3 separate regions of the Homo sapiens genome follow, and all the other regions are linked to region 3. The links are contacts of gene promoters, found by promoter capture Hi-C in blood cells and fetal thymus (Javierre and others, 2016). All regions are on one chromosome and are shown on one strand. Each heading gives the region's core, a stretch centred on a gene start or on the middle of the fragment in contact. The rest is flanking DNA. Distances are from core to core; before and after follow the strand shown.

What was found. The method cuts DNA at HindIII sites, captures the fragments that hold promoters and counts their contacts. A CHiCAGO score of 5 or more calls a contact.
Region 1: a contact is called between the fragment with the promoter of EIF4A3 here and the fragment with the promoter of CEP131 in region 3, in 2 of 17 cell types (non-activated CD4 T cells and naive CD8 T cells). The highest score is 11.2, in non-activated CD4 T cells.
Region 2: the fragment with the promoter of TBC1D16 here is called in contact with the fragment with the promoter of CEP131 in region 3 in 2 of 17 cell types (total CD4 T cells and non-activated CD4 T cells); the score reaches 5.4 in total CD4 T cells.

The regions. Positions count from the first base shown.
Region 1 is chr17:80,145,721-80,148,420 of GRCh38, reverse strand. It overlaps EIF4A3 (eukaryotic translation initiation factor 4A3), which reads left to right and starts at 1,293. Exons shown (of 12, transcript NM_014740.4): 1 at 1,293-1,628. The coding sequence starts at 1,460. RefSeq lists enhancers at 1-638, 639-1,351, 1,352-2,066 and silencers at 635-824, 1,665-1,714. The HindIII fragment of the contact is 5,955 bases long and covers 1-2,700 here.
Region 2 is chr17:80,034,470-80,037,341 of GRCh38, reverse strand. It overlaps TBC1D16 (TBC1 domain family member 16), which reads left to right and starts at 1,470. Exons shown (of 12, transcript NM_019020.4): 1 at 1,470-1,547. CCDC40 (coiled-coil domain 40 molecular ruler complex subunit) reads right to left here and starts at 700. Exons shown (of 20, transcript NM_017950.4): 1 at 651-700. The coding sequence starts at 679. RefSeq lists enhancers at 1-192, 1,092-1,211 and a silencer at 1,402-1,471. The HindIII fragment of the contact is 6,044 bases long and covers 1-2,671 here.
Region 3 is chr17:81,221,689-81,224,388 of GRCh38, reverse strand. It overlaps CEP131 (centrosomal protein 131), which reads left to right and starts at 1,424. Exons shown (of 26, transcript NM_014984.4): 1 at 1,424-1,620. RefSeq lists silencers at 832-1,201, 1,362-1,691 and enhancers at 1,053-1,722, 1,723-2,392, 2,393-2,700. The HindIII fragment of the contact is 19,797 bases long and covers 1-2,700 here.

The DNA.
Region 1 (2,700 bases), core at 44-2,543, 1.1 Mb after region 3:
AGAAGCACTTAAAGTGTCAGATAAGAAAGCGGTTAGTGGCTGCGCGTGGACACCTGTGGTCCCAGGTGCTCTGGAGGCTGAGGCGGGAGGATCGCCTGTGCTCGGGAGGTGGAGGCTGCAGTGAACCGAGATCGCGCCATGGCACTCCAGCCTGGGCGACAGGGCCAGACTGTCTCAAAACAAACAAACGAACAAACAAAAAGCAGGTTAAGATGCACAACTGGTTAAAGTTCTGCTGGGCAATTAAAAAATGATCCCGTCTGGGTTATCTTTGCTGCAGGACACGCATTAGCAGCACCGTCTACTGACAAGTGGCCTTCATTAAGAGCAAATTGCAGGCTCAGCATGTATTTTATTTATAACAGCTGCTTGCCGGGCACAGTGGCTCATGCCTGTAATCCCAGCACTTTGGGAGGCCAAGGCAGGCGGATCACCTGAGGCCCCGCAGTTCAAGACCAGCCAGGACAACCCTAACCCCCGCCTCCCCCAACCCCGTCTCTACAAAAAAATTTAAAAAATTAGCCGGGCGTGGTGGCGCGCGCCTGAGGTCCCAGCTACTCCAGAGGCTGAGGCGGAGGCTACAATGAACCCTGATCCTACCACTGCACTCCAGCCTGGGCGACGGAGCGAGACCCTGTCTCCAACTCACCAGGCAAACGGTGAAGACACACCCAGGCGCGTCCCCTAAGAGGGACGCCGGCTTCAGGGGCCCTGGCCCTCCCCAGCGCAGACCCGCCGGAGCCCAGCGCCGCGCCGGGGCCCACCACCGGCGGCCGTGAGGGTTTCCACTCGAATCTCCCCGGCGAGCTGGGCGCCTCCACTACGGGTCTGCGACGCAGTCCACCCACTGCGGGCCCGAGAGAGGACCCGTGCTCGTCATTTTTATTCGAGGCGGGGCTATCTGGGGACCCCGCCCGGAGCGGAGGCCCCTCGCGGCCCCAGCCTGTTTCCAGGGAATTCAGGTCCACACGCCGCTCAAAGAACCTCAGCGCCCCAGTCCGCGAAATCCCGCGGCCGGTACGAAACACCGCCAACTTTAGAAGTACCACCCCCTCCATCCCTTTCGTAAGGAACTGGGTGCCCCGCCCTCAACGAGATCCCGCGGGAACTGCATATGGCGCGAGAGCAGAAACACCTTACTTTTCCCTGCGGCAAACGCCCAGTTCCCTTTCACGTGACGAAGAGTGCCCCGTCCCCCAGAGGCGTGGCCGCGTCGCGCGTACGCACGTACGCACGTACGCACGCACGTCTCTCGCTTTCGCATACTTAAGGCGTCTGTTCTCGGCAGCGGCACAGCGAGGTCGGCAGCGGCACAGCGAGGTCGGCAGCGGCACAGCGAGGTCGGCAGCGGCACAGCGAGGTCGGCAGCGGCAGCGAGGTCGGCAGCGGCACAGCGAGGTCGGCAGCGGCAGCGAGGTCGGCAGCGGCGCGCGCTGTGCTCTTCCGCGGACTCTGAATCATGGCGACCACGGCCACGATGGCGACCTCGGGCTCGGCGCGAAAGCGGCTGCTCAAAGAGGAAGACATGACTAAAGTGGAATTCGAGACCAGCGAGGAGGTGGATGTGACCCCCACGTTCGACACCATGGGCCTGCGGGAGGACCTGCTGCGGGGCATCTACGCTTACGGTGAGCGGGCGCGGGCCGCGGGGGCCAGCCGGGGGCGAGTCGGGGGCGAGCCGGGGGCTGAGGGCCAGACTGGTGACTCCCGGGCCGGCCCTGCGCTCCGGAGGTCGTGGTCAGGGTCGAGGCTCGGGGGCCAGTGACGTCCGACCCCCACCCCCACCCCCGTCCTCGCCCTCACGCCTGGCTGTGTCGGCGCTTTCGGTGTGTGTCCCCCGTGCAGAGCTCGGCGCTGGGTCTGTCGGGGGCTGCAGCCGCTTCGAGGCACCTCAGCGTCCTTCATTCAGCAGATAACTGATTTCTACCTATTAGCTTTTCTAGGTACTGGGGTTTTGGCGGTAAACCGGAAGGGTTTGCGCCTTTACGGGTTTTGAATTTCGTTTGGGGGGAAAGCATACTGTCAGGTTGCCCAGGCAACCTGAAGAACCTGAAGCGGGGTAATTGAATAGAGTGGGACTGGGAAGGAGGAGAGAATTAGTAAAGCAGAGAGGTAAGGGGGTTCGCAGGAGGGGGTGCCATTTGAGCAGAGTTCTGGATGAAGGAGACTGTTATGAGAAGAGGGAAGAGCAGTTGGGGCAGAAGGAACAGCTGGTGCCAGGGCCTTGCAGCCCTTAGCCAGCTGCATTCCAGGAACTGAAAGAAGTCCCCTGTGGTGGGATTTTGGAGAGCTAGTCGGGGCAGATCTAGCAAAGACGTGTAGGGTGACGAATAATTTGAATTTCATTTAGAAATCTAGTGGGAAGCCAGTGGAAGGTTTTAAGTAGCTATGTGACACGATCACATTTACAGTTTTAAAGATTCTTCTGGGTGTCTGTAGATTTGAGGTGAGGCGAGGCAAGGCAGGAGAGGAAACAAGAGAGTTGGGAGCTTTTGCTGCAGTTCAGGGAAGAGAGGATTGTGCTGCCTTGGAGATGGAGTACCAGGGAGCTGACAGCATTGGCTGATGGATTGAACGTGAGTGACAGAAGGAGGAGAGTTGGAGTGTTTTGAGTAACCGGTGGTTGATGCTGCAAACATTTGGCTAGGTAGGCAGCACTCCAGAGAGTCAGAATCAGGAGCTGTCTCTTGGTATGTTTGA
Region 2 (2,872 bases), core at 221-2,720, 1.2 Mb after region 3:
CCTTTTAAACAGAGCCTAAGCGAGCAGAGGCCCGGTGGCAGGGATCTTCACTCAGCCGCCCTCCCTGTGCGCGCTCAGTGCTTCCACCCAGGCCCCAGGACGGTGACCGCGGACTATCGCGGGCCGCCTAACCGCAGGGACCCCTCCCATCGCGGGTCACCCCCAAGCCTGCGAGAGGGGATCTGTCCTTGCAGGAGGGAGGCGCGGGGCCGGGCTGGTCTCCGGCCACAGCGAGTGGCCCCGGAGCAAGGTCAGGGGCGGTATCCAACAGCCCCGCGCCCTGCAGAGCCCTCTACTCTTAGGAGGACTGCGCGCAGGGACCGCCACGCAGAGTGGTTGCCATGGTGACTGCAGAGTGAGCGGTCCCGGGTTTTAGAGGGAGTCGCGCGCTTGGAGTAGGGGAAAGAGGGAGGCCGAGAGAGGACAAAGGGACAGGAGGGGAGAAGTGAGAAGGGTTGGCGGGGGGGTGAGGGGCTGAACGCAGTGGACGGGAAAGGCCAGCAAAATGGCGAGAGAAGGGACACAGGCGAGAGGAAGGGGGAGTGGAGGCGAAGGGGCGAGGCAGGAGCCGACGCGGGGGCCACCTGGAGCGGTGAACGGAGAGCGCGGCCTGGCGACTCCAAGACCCGCTGCCCCTCGGCCCGGCTTACCGGCCCGCCGCGCCGCCCGGTTCCGCCATTTCCCGTTGCTAGGCGACGCTGTCAACATCCGGCCGGGCCGGGACCACGCGCGCTGCGAGGGCGGGGGCCGCCGGGGGCGGCGCGGCCTTTGTGCCATCTCCACGCACGCAGAGGCGCGCGCCGTCTCGACGTGTCGTCCCTTAGACTGTAATGATTAGAGCACGACCATGCTTTTCCTTTATCGCTCTCTGCGCCCGGGTCCCGCCTCGGCTGCGCTCAATTTCTGTAAAGCGACAGCGGCGTCAGCGTGTGCCCAGCGGGCGGCTCGAGGTCCCGAAGGGACCTGCCGGGCACCTGGGGACCCCGGACTGCTAAGCGCCCGGGAATGGCAGGCGGGCTGGGGGCACCGGGGGCCGGGGACCCCGCGCATGGCGAGCGCTTTTCCATCTCCTGCCCTAGGGGGCTCCGGTGCCCTTCTCCAGGGGTCCTACGGAGACTCCTTGCATGGACGCCCGGGGGGTCTTCCGGAGCGTATCTTCCCTTCCTAGTCCGAAATAGGAGAAATCTCCCTGCAGAGGGCGGCAGCGGAGGGCCAGCGCGCACGCGGAGCGTCCGAGGAGCCCTGCCTTTCCTTTGGGGACGCCAGGCTCGGGACGGGGCACAGTCCCCGAGGCCGGGACGCGGCGAGGCCTGAGGGAGGGCCAGCAGGGAACTAGAGGCTTGGGCCCAGGGCTGGGCCAGAAGGTGGGCGGGGAGACCGGCGGGGGCAGGCAGGGGCCGGGCCGGGGGCGGGCCCGGGGGCGGGCCGGGGGCCGGGCCTCCCCGCGCGTCCCCGCCCCGCCGCGCCTCACTGGCGGCGGCAGCGGCGGAGGCGACGGTGGCGGCTCTCGGAGCCGGCGCGAATCCGGCCCCCGCAGCGGGACCCGGGTGGGTATCGGGGCCCGGACGGGGCCGCGGGGGCGGGGTCCGAGGGGTCCACCGCGCAGCGAGCAGCGCCCCCTCGGCGGAGCTGGGGCGGGGGCGCGCGGGGCGCGTGGGGCGCGTGGGCCTGCAGCCGCGGGACCGGGGAGGGGCCGGGGTCCGGCCGCCGTCCTCGGGGTGCGGGGCGCCAGCAGGAGCGGGAGCGTTGTGGGAGGACCTGGATCACGGAGGGGCACCTGGGGACTTTTCCCCGCGGCGAGTGAGGGCGCCCGGGCCCGGAATGGGCCTAATTCGGGGAGACTGGTCCCCGCCTGTCTGGAGCGGTGGACCGGGGAACTTGCGGTCTTTGTCTGGCTGAATCGGCGGAGCAGACGGATGAGAACTTGTGGGGTGCCGGCGCGCGCCCACACAGCCTCCAAAGTGTGCGTCCCCCCAGCAGCGCGCGCTCAGCTTTCCCGGCCTGTCGGGCTTGGTGGTCTGGGCTGTTTAAGATCCGCGTGTCGGGATACTCACTTCCGTTCCGCCTGGGCTCCCTTGTTCTTTCCTTTGGGAAAAAAAAAAAAAGAAAAAGAAAGAAAGAACGAAAGGAAGGAAAGAAAAAAAGGAAAGGCAACTGAAGATTGCTAAACATAACCTAGGGGATCCTGCCGGAAGCCGCTGAATCCTGAAATCCTGTGATTCCCACACTCGGAAGCTGGTGTCGTATATTGGCCACAAAGTAGTTCAGATTTGATTCAGAAATAGGAAATGAATAGAAAAGACATAACAAAAGTTAGTCTCGCCTTATGGTAAAGTTTGTTTTACTGTCTGGGTCAAGTTCAAATGAGAAGCTGGGCTGATTGGCCAGCCTCTGCGACTTGATCCTGAAGATCTGCTTTCTTTTCTACCAGAAGGCTCCTAATTCTTTTATCTGGAATAAAAAGGGAACTCCGTCTTAAAGATGCTCACGTGAGGCGGCATATTGCCAGAGGGTGGGCGCAAAGACTGGGGGCTGGAGATTCCATTCCAAATCTGTTACTGATTGATCAGAACACTTTTTCAAATCCATGCCTCAGTTTTAGAAAATCCTCATTAGAAACGCTAACAGTAAAATTGGTGAATACTAAACACTTTTAAGAACCATGAAAGCTTTTGTAAATAAAGAATAAAGTGAGGAGTAACTTTTGGTATTAACTACAAAGTTCATTAATGGATGTTGTTTGCATCCTGAGCGTGGTTATTGTGCGCATATTTTTTTGTAAGTGGCATGTTTATGGTGAGACTATGGCTAACGAAAGTTTTTATGGCGAAAGTTTTTATGGCTGGGCGCCGTGGCTCACGGCTGTAATCCC
Region 3 (2,700 bases), core at 175-2,674:
CACGGGTAATTTTTTTGTATTTTTACTAGAGACGGGGTTTTGCCATGTTGGCCAGGGTGATCTCGAACTCCTGACCTCAGGTGATCCGCCCACCTCAGTGTCCCAAAGTTCTGGAATTACAGGTGGGACCCACTGCGCCCGGCCGGCAGTTTCTTATAAACAATCATTTGATCCAGCAACCCCACTCCTGGGTATTTACACAAGAGAAATGAAAAGTTGTGTCCACACAGAAGCCGATGAGTGAATGTTTATGGCAGCGTCATTCATAATTGCCAAGCACCAGGAACAATCTCTGCGTCCTTCATTTGATGAATAAAACCATCAATAAATAAAACCATCTGAACCGGTGGTTCACACCGGTTACAGGATACCACTCAGCAATAAAGAGGAACCAGCATGAATCTCAAAATGCGAAGTGGTAGAAGCCAGACCCACAGGCGCGCTGCGCGACATCCCTTTTGTGTGACATTCTGGAAAAGGCTGCCTCTAGGGATGGAGAACAGAGAGAACTGAGCAGCCGCCACCAGCAGTCAGCAGGTACGGGATCCGGAGGGAGAATGTTCTGTAACTAAAGTTACACAACTCCACTGCACACCAAAAAATGTGGATTTTACTGAAACCAAACTTTTTATTTTACAGAGCACTGGACTTTTTAAAAAGCGGGGGCAGGGGAGACCAGTGTGCTGTGACTTTTAGGGGAAGGATGGCTTCCCTGGAGAGGACCTGGGCGGAATCCCCAGGGCTCCCGGAGAGAGGGGGAGTCACAGAGCGGCTACGCACGGGGCGCAGCGTTAAAACTTTGGAGAAGGAAAAAAAACAACAAAGCAGCGCGAAGGGAAGGAGGTCAGGGAGGTTAGCAAGGCGCCCACACGCCCTCGCAGTCGTACTGAGTAACGAGGGGAGTCGCGCACGTGGGTGGGGACAGAGCGGCCTAGGACACTGGGGGAGCCCCGGGCCGCGGGAGTGCGGCGGCCTGGGGGTGTCGGGGAGCCGAGCCGAGGCCGCGTGCTCCTCGCGCCCTCCCTGGTGTCTCCTCCCCAGGCCCTGCGTGCCCCGCCCACACCTGCCTTGCCCCGCCCACATCTGCCTCGCCCTACTCGCCCATCACACCCCCACCTCACGCCCCGCCCACAACCGCTGGGGCCCCGCCCCTGCCCGGCCAGCTCCTCCCGCCGCCCTCGGTCCCCCGCCCCCTATATGACCCGCCCCTTTCCAGCCGCGTCCAATCGGCCGCTCTCTGTAGTCGCGTCCCTCAGCCATCCGCCGCTCCTCCCACGCTTGAACTTCCCGAAGGACAGCCGAGCGGCCCAATGAGCTCCCGGGACGGCCTGAGCGGGAGCGTGAAGGGCCAATCCGGAGTCGGCGCGCGCAGGAAAGGCGGGCCGGCGTGACGGGCTGGGGAGGTGGTGCCAGGCTGGTTGCTAGCTGCCGCCGCTGCTCACCCCGGCCGTCCGGCCGCTTCATTGTCACCGGGCCTCGGGGCAGTGTTGGGGGTGGCGGGGCGCCAGGTCGCCGACCCGAGGTTTGGGCGCGACTGGTTCCGCATCCCCTCCCCGCCGGCCGAATCTGCAGGCCCCGCGCGCCAGGCAGGCTTCGCGGCTGCGCCCCCGGCCCGCGCAGGTGAGGGGGGCCCGGGCAAGGGAGGGGGTTGCAGGGCGCACGGAGGTTGGAGGGGTCCGGAGCCCGCGCAGGTGGGAGGCCCTGGTCCAGTGATGAAGTGATGGGGATCCGGGGCACGCACAGGTGAGTGGGGGGATCTGGTGCCCGCGCAATTGAAGGCGGGATCCGGGGGAAGTGAGGGGGATCCAGGGTGCGCACAGGTGAGGGAGGTCCGGGGCCCGCGCAGGTGAAGACAGGCTCGTGCCTGAGGGTGTGGGTCCCCACCTCCATCCCCTCCACCCTCTCCACCTCCCTCCACTCCCCTCCGGTCCCCAGGACAACATGGAGTCCAGTCCCGGCATCTCTGGCCCGGCTGCCTTAAGCCCTGGGGAAAATGGGGAGATGGGAGCTGCCCTGAGGACAAGTGGAGGGCTCTGCTCTGCGCGTGGGCTCTGGCCTCTCTGTCCAGGGTCAGGGTCAGGGTCAGGGTCAGCCCACCCTGGGAACCAGGTCCTGGCGCTGGTCATCAGTCCCCGCCCCTTCAGGTCCTGGGAGGGACACAGTTTTATCCAAGATGTAGTGGCCTCCCAGGCCTCCCTTCTTCTGGCTTGGAGGTTTCCATGGAGAGGCCCCGTTCGCCATCCCAGAGCCGCTTGCAAGTGTGGCTGGGAGAGCAGAGTCCTGGGCTCCAAGGGCTTGCATGGGTCCAGCCAGGGGTGGACAGTGCCCTGCAGGAGGAGGGTGTTAAGTTTCTTCCGCACAGCCGGAAGTGCATAACTGAGGACTGGGACCTGGTCAGTGGCAGGGTCAGCCTCTAGGGAGTAGGGGTATCCATCGCTCCGTGGAAGGGACCTTGGGGGACCTGCTGTGGGGTGCCGGGCTGAAGGAAGCCCAGGGTGACCTTGGGCGATAGGCTGGGTGCCTGCTGGCCTACTGGAGGCCACCGTGGCAGGGAGGTAATTCTCGAGGTTGGTCCCTGGCGCCAGCTTCTCCCGTTCATCTACGGGTTCAGCTGAGTGCCTTTCCCTGCAGGTGCTGGGGTTGCTCAGGAGCCACACAATTCATAAACCAACTGTGTGCGGCCACAGGAAGGGAGTCCGA